Linked DNA regions of Homo sapiens: region 1 is linked to region 2. The links are contacts of gene promoters, found by promoter capture Hi-C in human tissues and cell types (Jung and others, 2019). All regions are on one chromosome and are shown on one strand. The core of a region is centred on a gene start or on the middle of the fragment in contact, and the rest is flanking DNA. Distances in the headings are between cores, read along the strand shown.

The links. Contacts are between HindIII fragments. The study calls those that stand out against the background at their distance.
Region 1: a contact is called between a fragment that was not itself captured here and the fragment with the promoter of JPH2 in region 2, in 1 of the 25 tissues and cell types used here (thymus).

The regions. Positions count from the first base shown.
Region 1 is chr20:44,678,225-44,684,704 of GRCh38, forward strand. No RefSeq gene overlaps it. Among named protein-coding and RNA genes, the nearest start is that of LINC01260, 9.7 kb to the left of the region's middle. RefSeq lists enhancers at 1-243, 244-744 and a silencer at 5,363-5,422. The HindIII fragment of the contact is 5,149 bases long and covers 1-4,387 here.
Region 2 is chr20:44,184,107-44,190,709 of GRCh38, forward strand. It overlaps JPH2 (junctophilin 2), which reads right to left and starts at 3,082. Exons shown (of 6, transcript NM_020433.5): 1 at 2,221-3,082. The coding sequence starts at 2,599. The HindIII fragment of the contact is 16,539 bases long and covers 1-6,603 here.

The sequences.
Region 1 (6,480 bases), core at 563-3,062, 490 kb after region 2:
TTCCAGGCAGAAGAAACAGCAAATGCATAGGTCCTGAGGCAGGCATGCATTTGGCATGTTGGAAAACATGTGGCACTGGCCAGACCAAGCAAGGCCTTGGAGAACATGAAGAGCAGTCTGGCTTTTGCTCCAGTTGCCACAGAAGTCACTGGAAGAGGCCTCCTCTGAGATAAGACACTAAGAAAGCAGTGTCAGGCCAGTTAGACAGGTCTGGACTTGTCTTCTGGAGTCAAATGCAGGCGGCAGACATTTAAATGGCCAGTCACAGAGAGGGTGATGGGGGCCATGATGGGTGACCCACAGGGCCGTGAGAGCACAGAGGAGGGACCCTGCCCCATCCTGAGGGCCCAAGGGTCCTTCCCAGGGGAAGAGAGAGCTCAGCTGAGACCTGAAGGCTGCAGCAGAGTTAGCCAGCTTGAAAGAGAACGACAAGGGATGGGATGGGAAGTGGATTCCAGGCAGAGGAAGAAGCAACTGCAAACGCCTGAGAAGAGAAAGCCTGGAGCATTTGGGGGACCAGAAGGGGGTTAATGTGGCTGGATTGTAGATGCAAACAGGGGTTGGCCTGGGGGGCAGGCGGCAGCGGCTAGGAGGGCTCTGCTTTTCTCACTTGATATACTGTGAACATTTTTCTATGTCAGAAAGGATCCTTCTGCTATAGGATTTTTAAGGGCTGAGCATTACGTCGTGGAATAACTGGTTCTCCAGTGTCAGACATTTAGGTTCTTTCTAGTTTTTCCCTCTTAGAAACAATGCTATGTTGAACATCTTTGTCTGTGCATCTTTGTGCACACGTATTATTATTTCTGTGCGGTAAAGTTGGGAAGTCTCGGAGGCTACTTGGTGGACAGGATTGAGAGCTGCCTTGGAGAGGCCTGAGTCAGATCTGTTTGCCAGATCAGCCTCCACTGGGTTTCTACTGGAGGGGCCATACACAGGGAGATGCAGGGAGAAGGCCTGAGGGAGAGATAGAGAGCCCTGATTGTGAGCTGTGGCTGCCCAGGCCAGATAATGGCAGGGGAGAGAGGAGGCCCCGATCCTGGGCCCCTGTCTGTGCTGTCGGCCTGGTGCGTTAGCTCCTGGTGCCTTCTAAAGAGGCAACAAAAGTACTTCAAATTGAGCATGAGCTTGGGTTCAAATCACACCTCTACCGCTAAAAAACTAAGTGCCGTTGGGCCAGTTACTTAGTCATTCTGAATCTCAGCGTCCTTATCTGTAAAATGGGGAAAATAAGCCAATAGGGTTATTGTGAAAGATACATGAGATTAATGAGTCTTGGCGATAGTCCCTGCTCCCAGTAAATGACGGCGTGCATTTTTATTGTCATCTTGGGTCTCCATCCTTTTTAAAAAAATACTTGATTATAACAGCTTTATTGAGATAAAATTCACATGCCATACAATTCACCCATTTAAAGTGTACAATTCAGGCAGGGTGTGGTGGCTCATGCCTGTAATCCTGGCACTTTGGGAGGCCGAGGCGGGCAGATCACTTGAGGTCAGGAGTTCGAGACCAGCCTGGCCAACATGGTGAAACCCCATCTCTACAAAAAATACACAAATTAGCTGGGCATGGTGGTGGGCGCCTGTAATCCCAGCTACTCGGGAGACTGCGGCAGGAGGATCGCTTGAACCCGGGAGATGGAGGTTGCAGTGAGCCAAGGTCATGCCACTACACTCTAGCCTGGGCAACAGAGCAAGACTCTGTCTCAAAAACAACAACAACAGATAAAGTGTACAATTCAATAGTTTTTTATATATTTGTCACAATCAATTTTGGCACTTTTTCATTATCCCCCACAGAAACCCTGTACCTATCAGCAGTCAGTCCTGCAGCCGACCCCCCTCTGGCCCCAGGTAACTGCCAATTACTTTCTGTCTCTATGGATTTGCTCTTTCTAGATGTTTCATAGAAAAGAAGTCATGCAACATGGGGTCTTTTTTTTTTTCTTTTGAGACAGGGTCTCCTTCTCTTGCCCAGGCTGGAGTGCAACAGTGCAATCACAGCTCACTGCAGCCTCGAACTCCAGGGCTCACATGACCCTCCCTGCTCAGCCTCCCAAGTAGCTGGGACCACAGTGCACCGCCATGCCCAGCAAATTTTTAAAAAATTGTTTGTAGAGATGGGTTCTCCCTATGTTGCCCAGGCTAGTCTAGAACTCCTGGGCTCAAGTGATCCTCCCACCCTGGCCTCCCAAAGTGCTGGGATTACAGGCATGAGCCAGTGCGTCCAGGCCTGTGGTCTTTTATGACTGGCTTTGTTCACTTTTTTCATCCCTGTCAGCAATGTATGAGAGTTCTGATTTCTCTGATTCCTTACCAACACTTATTATTGTTTGTCTTTTTTATTGTAGCCATCCTCGTGGGGGTGTGTAGTGGGATCTCATTGTGGCTTTGATTTGCATGGCCTTGACGGTTAATGTTTCTGGTTTTTTTCAGTGGAATCCCCTTTATAAATTCTGGGACACCCTATTCCCAGTGTGGAAACACTAACCTGTTCCAAAGAAAGAAAAAAAATTCTAGATGGAAAAAGATGTTCATTACTGCGACATAACATTTCTTAATACAAGTGACTCGTCTATAGCAGTAGGTAGTTCCTAATTTTTTTTTTTTTTTGAGACAGAGTCTTACTTTGTCACAGGCTGGAGTGCAGTGGCATGATCTCAGCTCACTGCAACCTCTGCCTCCCGGGTTCAAGTGATTCTCCTCCCTCAGCCTCCCAAGTAGCTGGGACTACAGGAACATACCACCACTCCCGGCTAATTTTTGTATTTTTAGTAGAGATGGGGTTTCACAATGTGGAAACACTAGGCCACATTGTGAAATGTGGCCAGGATGGCCTCCATCTCCTGACCTCATGATCTGCCCACCTCGGCCTCCCAAAGTGCTGGGATTACAGGCGTGAGCCACCGCGCCTGGCCTATTATCTTTAATAATTATAAATACTGGGCTGGGCGTGGTGGCTCATGCCTGTAATCTCAGCACTTTGGGAAGCCAAGGTGGGCAGATCACTGGAGGTCAGGAGTTCAAGACCAGCCTGGCCAACATGGTGAAAACTCATCTCTATTAAAAATACAAAAATTACCCTGTCATGGTGGTGCATGCCTGTAATCCCAGCTACTCAGAAGGCTTAGGCAGGACAATCGCTTAAACCTGGGAGGCGGAGGTTGCAGTGAGCCGAGATTGAGCCACTGCACTCCGGCCCAGGCGAGAGAGTCAGACTCCATCTCAAAATAATAATAATAATTATAATAACTATAAAGACCAGCTATCATATGGAAAATGTCCCTGATGTGTGAACAAATGCAGGATGGAAAAATACTCAGTGTAGTCATTTTAGCTAATATATATTTGTTAAAACATCCAAATATTTTTTTCGAGCTCGGCGCTGTGTGCCAAGCTCCATGCTGGCTCATGGACAAAGTCAGGAAAAGAACAAGCAAAAATGAAATTCCTTCTTGTGTCGGGAGTGGTGGGGTTTTGGGGGACAGGTATCTCCCCTTCCCCATGTTTTCTTCTCAAACTTCCTCCACTGTTGTTATATTACCTTTGCAGTGATAAAACCAAGAGAACAGAAGAAATACTTCTGGACCTAAGGATGAAAGAATGATGGGAGAAACATTTCTTGAGCCAGTCCCTTTCTGCGTTCTTATTTTGTGGAATCCGCACACATCCCCGAGAAGCTTAATAAAAAGGGCTACTATCATGACACTTACTGTGTGCCTTGCCGGTTCCACCTGTTAGGTGCCATTGTTGTCCCCATTTTACAGATGAGGAAACTGAGGCGGGGCAAGGAGATGCCCTTCTGCTTGGTGGTCTATCCTTCAGCATTACCCACACACATGCAGAGCTACATATAAGCTCACGTTCACACTCGGATTCACGTCTGCACCCATGGGCACATGGAGGATCGCACAAGCCACACTCAGACACACATGTGTGCTCACACACAGGGCTGCCCATGTCCACAGGTATGTGCATGGGGACACGCATGTATATATGTGCATATTCCCATATGCACACAGCACAGGTCAAACACTTTTGGACACACATCTGCCTGAGAATGGGAAAAGGGGTGCAAGATAAAGGGGCAAAGTCTGGCTTTTGCCTCCTCCCTGCACCTGCTACCAGCTGTGTGCAGGACTGGGTGGGGCAGAAATAGGTGGCTCTGAGCTCAGAGGGCAGAGGTGGCCTTGCACTAGAAATCCACCTGCCAAACTTCCAAATGGGCTACAGCGACTAAGGGGCCTCACCTGCTGGGCAAATCCCCCAGCTGGAGGGTGTGCTCCAGATCCTCCAGGGGTCCCCAGGGGGTTGAGAAGATGAGGGGCACACCCAGCAGCCCCTAAGGGAGGAAGCGTGGCCATACTGGCTAAGGGGGCGCACTCTTCTTGCAGGCCGCCTGATCAGATGCCTGTAAAATAAGACAGCTTTACAAAGAGGGTGTCGGAATGTGAGGAGGCAGAGGGACAGGCATGAGTAGAAAGACCTTCCTCAGGACCTGAAGTCCAATGATCCTGGTCCTGCGTCCCACTAGCTAGGTGATATTGAACAAGTCACATAACCTCTTTGAACCTCAATTTCCTCATTTGTAAACTTTGCACAAATCATTTCTTTGACTGCTAAACAAGTATGTTTTGAGGACCAACGACATGCCAGGTACGGTGCTGGGCACTGGGAAAACAGCAGCAAGCAACACAGACATGGGCTTGCCGTGTAGAGCCTGCAGAATTAGGGAAAGGATAAATGGAAACATCTCACACATAGTAAGTGCTCAGTTACGTTCCTCCTGGTCTCTCTTTTCTACCATTGTAAAGGCGATGCAATAACATAGAAAGTTGGGAGAATGGGGTGGCGGTTGCTGAGGGGGGAACTCTGTCATCCAGAATCCCACCACCCCAACACAATGACTAGCTTCATTTTTGCCAATTTCATCAGCTCATGCAGGGGTTGACCTGCTGTAGGGCACTCAAAATATTCAAACCAATTAATGCATTGCATTTGTGATCAGAAGAAAAAAGCTAATTACAATGTAACAGATTTACCTGATGCAAAGCAACGCAAGCATGGCCATCCCTCTGCATATATGGAAGCTTTTCCTTTTGGGGGAAACAGCAATATTTCCATTTTACGGAAAAAGAAATGGAGGCACAGAGAGGTCAAGGCACTTGCCCAAGGTCACACAGACAGAAATGCGAAGAGCAGCTCCAGAGGCCAGAACTCCTGCCCATCCTGTCCAGGACTGTGGGATGCATCCAGGGACGGACACTGGGGCTGTGGGCTGGATGACTTGGCTGCCTTTGCATTGATTGGAGCTGTTTAGGGAACCTACCCCAGCCACTAGCATCCAGTCCTAGAGACACAGAAAATTCACTGGCCAGCCTCACTTTTGAGCCCAGAAACCCCTTACCCTTCCTCCTGCCTCTTGAGAGGCCAGTGTTAGGTGTTAGCCGGGGTGCAAAGCTCTGGAAGGCAGGTTTCTGCTTTCTGCTGCCCTCCAGTGGGCAAAGAAAGCAAACCTCTGGATCCATCTGGAAGCAGGTAGCAGGTGTTGCCCAAGTCAGCTGCGGCTAATAGTAATAATAATGGCTGCCGCTCAATGAGCACTTACCACGTGCAGACGTTTTTACACCTAATCTAATGTAACCTAACCCCTTTAAGCAATTTAATTAACATTTAATTCCTCTCTCAAGGTAGGAATCACTTCCTATATACCCATTTACATACATAATCTGAGACTTAGAAAAATGACTTCCCAAAGTCACAAAGCTGGTCAGTGGCAGAGCCGAGAGTGCAAGTCCTTGGAGATCAGAGGAGGAAGAGACCATGATCCTGGACCAGGAGACAGCCCTGCATTCTTGGGCACAGAGGTGAATTTACTGTGAGGCTGGTGACGCATCAGGGCTCCTGACTTGCATGTCCTCTCCCAGGGCCATGGAGGAACTTTCCAACGCATTCGCATGGGCATATGTTTCACATTTGCAAAACTAACACATTTCAGTTGCAATTGGCTGAGACCACTATCTCTCTCCACTGCCTAGAATAATGTCTTCACATAGTAGGTAATAAATATGTGCTAATAAATCCATTTTGTGTTTAATAAATCATGTTGAATGAATGGGTAGAGAAATGAAGGAAGGAAGGAAGTGGCATTTAGTTCAATCTTGAAGGAAGGGCAGGATTTGAGAGAGCGTTCCTCATGTAGCCTAGTGGGCCCCTCCACACACAGACCATCCAAGGCCATGAGTGGCCTTGAATGCCAGGGTGAGGAATCTGGCCTTAGGTGGTAGGCACTGGGGAGCCATGGAAGGTTGCAGAGCAGAGGAAGGATATGAGTGTAATTGTCAATTAGGCAAGAGTTGAATGTCAAATAAGAGGACAGGGCCCTACAGCGGGGGGCCAGAGTGGCTCAGATAAAACTCCCCTCATCCAGCACCACACAGAGAGCTGGTGCTCAGCCAGTGTGATCACAGAAGCCTCT
Region 2 (6,603 bases), core at 1,832-4,331:
AGATTGTGCCACTGCACTCCAGCCTGGGCGACAGAGTAAGACCCTGTCTCAAAAAACAAACAAACAAAAGAAGTCAGATAGTAAATACTTTGGGTTTTGCAGGACAAGAAGCAAAATTGAGGATGTTACGTAGGGGCTTTCAAATAATTTCACATGTCAAAAAGTGTTCTTCTTCTTCTTCTTCTTCTTCTTTTTTTCCATCATTCTCAGCTTATAAGCTGTGCAGAACTGACAGCAGGCTAGTTCGGCCCACGACCTATGGTTTGCTAGGCCCTAATTTAAAGCAACTTTTTAAACTTTGATGTTATAAAAATTGCCTGATACACTTGTGAAAGCAGTGTTTGGACACACACTCAGAGATTCTGATGAGAAGGTCTGGGTGGGCCACTGAATTTGCATTTCTAACTGGTGGATCAATGGTGCTGATGCTGCCCGTCCACCGTCCACATTTTGAGCAGTACTGATATTCTAAAGTGTCCCTTTTCACAGATGAGGAAACTGGCTTAGCTAAGTGATATGTCCATGTACACCCTGTGGACTAGGTAATGACATCTGCTCTGCCACTCCACAGGGCTGTTTTGCCACAGAAAACTCCTCTCTGATTCTTTAACCCACTGCTACCCTCATGCTTCTGAGCCTTTGTCTTCACTCTTCTCTCTGCCCCATGCCCACCCTCACAAACGTAACTGTCCTGTCGAGACCAAGCTCAGGCGTCAGCTCCATTTAAAGTATTTCCTGACCTCCTCAAATCTAAATTCTCCTTTCTGCAACAGTATCTGTACATACTTGTGTATAATGTGTATAACTGTTTGTCTGCATGCCTATCTTTGTTTTTCGATTTTTCGTTTTGTAAAAATGGGGATCTTGCTAGATTGCCCAGGCTGGTGTTGAACTCCTGGCCTCAAGTGATCCTCCCACCACAGCTTCCCAAAGTGCTGAGATTACAGGCGTGAGCCACGGAGTCCAAGAATTGCTTGAGCCCAGGAGTTTGAGACCAGCCTGGGCCACATAGTAAGACCCCATCTCTACAAAAAAAGAAAAAACAATTAATTAGCTAGGCTTGGTGGCATGTGCCTTGTAGTTCCAGCTACTCAGGAGGCCAAGATGGGAGGATTGCTTGAGCCCAGGAGTTCAAGGTTGCAGTGAGCTGTGATTGTGCCACCGCACTTCAGCCTGAGCAACAAAGCAAGACCTATCTTTAAAAAATTTAAAAAAGGAAACACAAAAGGAATGTAGGCCCGGCACAGTGTCCCACACCTGTAATCCCAGCAATTTGGGAGGCCGAGACAGGCAGATTGCTTGAGCTCCGAAGTTTGAGACCAGTCTGGGCAATATGGAAAAGCCCTGTCTCTACAAAAAAAAAAATAATAATACAAAAATTAGCCAGGCATGGTGGTGCACACCTGTAGTCCCAATTACTAGGGAAGCTGAGGTTGGTGGACCACTTGATCCTGGGAGATCAAGGCTGCAAAGAGCCGAGATCATGCCACAACACTCCAGCCTGGGCAACAGAACGAGAACTTGTCTTGGAAAAAAAAAAAAAGAATCCATGGATGGATCATAGATGGATGGATGGATGGATGGATGGATGGATGGATGGAAAGATGGATGGGTGGATGGGCAGGTAGATGTATGAATGGCTGGATGGGTAGATGAATGGTTGGGTGGAAGCATGAATGCGTGGGTGGGTAGATGGATGGATGGGCAGGCAGGTGGGTGGATGGATGAATGGATGGATGGACGGGTGGGTGGATTGGTGTGTGGATAGATGATGAGTGGATAGTTGGATGGGTGGATGGATGGATGGGTGGGTGGATGAATACTCCTCATGATCTATTGCTTGAAAATAATTTTCATGGCAAAGTTAAGACTAGACCCTAATTCTGCTAGAGTATATTCCATGGCTGTTTATGTTGGGGCATACCGAACATGCTAATGGTAGTAGTTATATTTTATTGTGTGTTGAGTGTGCACTTACATGGCAGGCTTTGTACTAAGCACTGCCACTAATCCTCTCAATAACCCCTTTATTAGCTCCATCTTTACTACAAGAAAATGGAAGCTCAGAAAGGTAGAGCAGCTTGCCCAAAACCACACAGCAAATCACTTCCTAGCCCATCTGATTCTGTGCCAATTGCCGGTCGCCTTTCCCACCCTCCACCAGGGTTTCTCACCCTCCCTGGCTCCACCCCACCTCTGCGGGCCCCCAGCTGGCCTCACCTCCATCAGCATAGGTCTCGGTGCCATAGCCGTCTTGCAGGCCATTGTTCCAGGTGCCCTCATACTTGGCACCGCTGCTTGAGCTCTGCCGGATTCCGTAGCGTCCCTTGAAGCCATGTGTCCACTCGCCCTTGTAGAGCCAGCGCCCCTTGGTCTCTATGCCCAGCCCATGCCGTTTGCCCTGGCTCCAGTATCCCTCAAAGGTGTTTCCGCTGGGCCAGGTGTAGACACCTGCCACCTCAAAGCCAAAGTTCCAGGAGCCAGAGTATTCGCCCTGGCCCTTGGGGCCTGTGCACAGTCCATGCCCATGGGCCTTTCCCCCCTCCCAGCCCCCGCAGTACGCCCCTCCATCATCAAAGTCGAAGCGGCCCCCACTCATCTCATCATAGCCCCTGACAACCTCCCCGTCCTCCAGCGTGGGTGCAGAGGGCGTGGGTGATGCCTGCAACACTCCTCCAGTGCCCTCGGGGGCAGGCCCCCAGACTCACCACTGCACCCCAGGAGGGGGGAAGCAGGATGCCAGCAGAGGCTGAAAGAGCCCCGGCGCCAAGTCAGCACCGGGTCGGCTAGTCAGTGCCATGCCCGGGAGCCCCGACTCCACCAGCCAGAGCAAGGCTGCCTGCTGGAAAGAAAGCAGGAAGGAAAGGTTCAAAGTCCCCACAAAGCGTCCCAAGTCTGCCTTCCAAGAAGTCCAAGGGAAAACGGTGTGATCTCTTTAAGAAGCCCAGTGAAAGGGTGGGGTGGAGGGGTCCCCAGCCTTTTCAAAGAGGGGAAATTCCCCTCGGTGGCAGCCCCCGCCGGAGGCTGAATTCCCGCAGCCCGCTGGCCCCCTTCTCCACCCCAGTGGGTGTGCGGGGCTGTCGGTCTCCCCGCCGCTGCCCCGCCCCCTTCTCCAATCCTGCCCTCCTTCTGGGACGGAAAGGTCAGTGTTGCCCTAACAAGGCCATTGGATCTCAGAAGCTGCTCCCAAAATAACCCCCAGCCAGCCCAGCCTTCTTCAAAGCGGGAAGGAGGGGTATTTCAAATCGCGCCCGTGCCGCAGACCCGGGCAGTGGCTGGAGGCATGAGGAAGGAGGCTGAGAACTGAGTGCAGGCAGCCCAGGGAACCTGGTGTCTTTTCCTCCCGGGAATGAGAGCTCCCTTCCATTCTCAGAGTCCCCTGGGTCTGCGCGCAGGGAGGGCACCGGGGAATCGGGGAAGGGAGGGGAGAGGGAGACCAGCAGAACACCCAGTCCTGGAACACTGAAAATCCCCCAGAGCGAGGAGGTTGGCAGATCTCAGCCCCATCACCACTCACATGCCCTAAGGGGACCTGGGGTTACAGCACCACTGCCAGCCCCATCAAGGAATCCAGTGACCTAAAGAGAAAGGAATGGAGACAGTTTCACATGTGCTTCCGAAAGCAGAGGAGGGAAGTCAGAAAGAGAGGGGAGGCTGTGGAAACAGGGTCTGGAAGATACACAGAATCTCAGTCCAGTGCTCACTCACCACCCTGAGCTCCCTCCACCCCTGGAAGCCGGGGAGAACTTGGTGCAAGAAGCAACCATCTATTCCCTTTCTCTTTCTCCTGAAGGGCAAAGAGAAGGGAGAGGAGCCTGCCCTCCTCTCTGCCTGAGACACAGACTGGGCGTCCCGCTAGCTTCCTCTCCCCACCCCTTGATGCCTCGGCGCCCTCCCTGCCCCCTGCCGCAGACCCAGCAGACCCTGAAGGTCAAAGGAGTCCCCTTCCTGTCAACACAGGGTTGTGTTGTAATGAGGTCCTCTCAGAAATTCTCAAGGGTCATGATTTTTTAAAATTTCCCTTTCTGAGCTGTCTTTTGCTCTAGTGTCCTAGGAGCCTGTGAGGCCAGACTTCAGAAAGCTCTTGGGGCAGGGCCAGGAGAGAAGGGCCTGGGTGGATTCCCAGCCACTCAGGTTCCCACCAAACTCCAGTAAAAAGAACAAATAAATCTCCATGGCAAGAAGCTGTGGCCAGAGCTAATGATTGTAAATCCCAGCTAAGCCCAAGGTTAATGGGAGTATAGAGGAATTCTGGGAAAGGTAAGAGCCACCAAGACTAGGAAGATCTGTGTGTGTGTGTGTCTGTGCGTGTGTGTGAACGTGTGTCTGTGAGAGTGTGAGAGAGTGTGTGTGAGTGTATGTGAGTGTGTGTGGTAAGAGTGTGTGTGTTTGTGTGTGTGTGGTAAGTGTGTGTTTGTGTGAGTGTGTGTGGTAAGAGTGTGTGTGTTTGTATGTGTGTGTGGTAAGAGTGTGTGTGTTTCCATGTGTGAGTGTGTGTGTGTGAGTGTGTGTGTGAAGATGGGGACAGAAGAGAAAGAGAGAACTAAGCACAGAAGGTACTAGAGAACATTAGACAATTATCTGACTTTGAACTTATCTGACATATTTCCAAACCCCATGATAACTTAGGCCACGTGAAGTCACTGCGGAAGTCTTGTTCCTGTTTGGGGAGTGGGTAAAAAGTGTTCCCTGCTTTCCTTCCAGTGGGTTACCTGTTCTTAGGACTTGGTTCCATCCTTGGTCACAGCCGCTGACCTTCAAGAGCCCCTTCTATATCTGCGTTTCACCACCAGGTAGAGGCACCCAGCCTCTTGGGCTCACTGTCACCGTCTGTTTGCCAAGCTGACAGGGAGCACGTAGTGGATAAAAACTGTTTCCTCTGGGTGGTTAGGTGTGAGCCCTGGCCAGGCTGACTGACAGCCTGCTTGCACAATTCACTTCTAAGAACATCTCAGGGCTACTCCCAGGGAGTTCTGCTTTCGCCACTTCTCACTAGGTCTTTGGAGAATCACAAACTTCTTTCTAGCTCTGCTGTCAAGGGAAGAGCATCTCAAACTGGAAGCTAGGGGAGTTTGAGCTGCAGATTCAATACCGTAATCATATGTTTATGCCAGGCAGCCATTGCTACATCTTAGCAGGGTGTTCTACCTATGGGAATTTAACCACTGTTCATCCATAGCAGCTCCCTAGGGTAGCTGTCTACCCAGGGTTACTACACATAAGAATCACTTACAGACTTAAAAACATAAAGAGATCCGAGAGCCCCACCCGAGACCTACAGAATTAGATTGTCCTGGGAGAAGACTTGGGCAGTCGAATTCTTTTAAAAGCTCCTCAGATGAATCTGATTTTCATCTCTGGTTAAAAACACTGTAAGTGCTTGTTATAGTGGCTCACACCTGTAATCCCAGCACTTTGGGAGGCCAAGGCTGGAGGATTGCTTGAGCCCAGGTGTTTGAGACCAGCCTGGACAACACAGTGAGACCCCGCCTCTACAATTAAAAATTTTTTTTTTTAATTAGCCAGGTGTGGTGATACACATCTGTGGTCCCAGCTACATGGGAAGTTGAGGCAAGGAGGATCGCTGAGTCAAGGAGTTGGAGGCTGCAATGAGCCATATTTGTGCCACTGCACTCCAGCCTGGCAACCCTGTTTCAAAAAATAAATAAATAGATAGAAAACAACAACAACAACAAAACCAAGGTAAAATTTCAAATTAAGATACTGTTTAATAACATAAAAATTCATGAATCCATTTATTCATGAATCCAGTAGTTTTGGAGTTAGATATGTCTTCAAATCCCAGTCCTGCCCCTCACAAGCTGTGTGACCTTGGACCAATTGTTAATTTCTCTAAACTGCAAATTATTCATCTGTAAAAGTCCCTACCTCAGAGGATTATTGGTATCAAGAATAACAGTATCTACCTTATCTAACTGGGTGAGGATTACACAGTTAATACTGTAAAAAGGCTCAGAACACATTACACATATAATCAGTGTTAGCTCTTATGAGAGTTACTCTTACATACTAAATTACTTTTCAGGCTTAATAAAATAGTCCTCAAAGAGGGAAGAGAGAACCCCTCCTAAATATTAAATATCTTGACATCGAAGCACTCCTTATTCTCATGTTTTAAACTGCAAAACGAAGTTACTGGTAAAGGGATACTTTGACTTTGTAAAAGTTTAAGTAAGATTCTTTGCCAAATTTGGTACTGGCCTTACCTGCCCAGAGCTTTCTGACAAGCTACCATTTGTCCCGCCTTTTAAACCAGTGCATTTCAGGGAAAGGGAGACCTCTTGTGGCGTTATGTGCATTACAACGGACTTTCCTCAGAAAAACCAAGTTCTTCAAATCCAGTGGAATTTACTAAACTTGAAATATTAGCCGGGCATGGTGGTGCATGCCTGTGGTCCCAGCTACTCAGAAGGCTGAGGCAGGAGGATCGCTTAAGGCTGGGAGATCGAGGCTGCAGGGAGCCATGATCACACCACTGCACTCCAGCCTGAGTGATGGAGCAAGATCCTCTCTCAAAAAAATAAATAAATAAATAAATAAATAATAATTTAAAAATAAATAGGCCGGGCACGGTGGCTCACG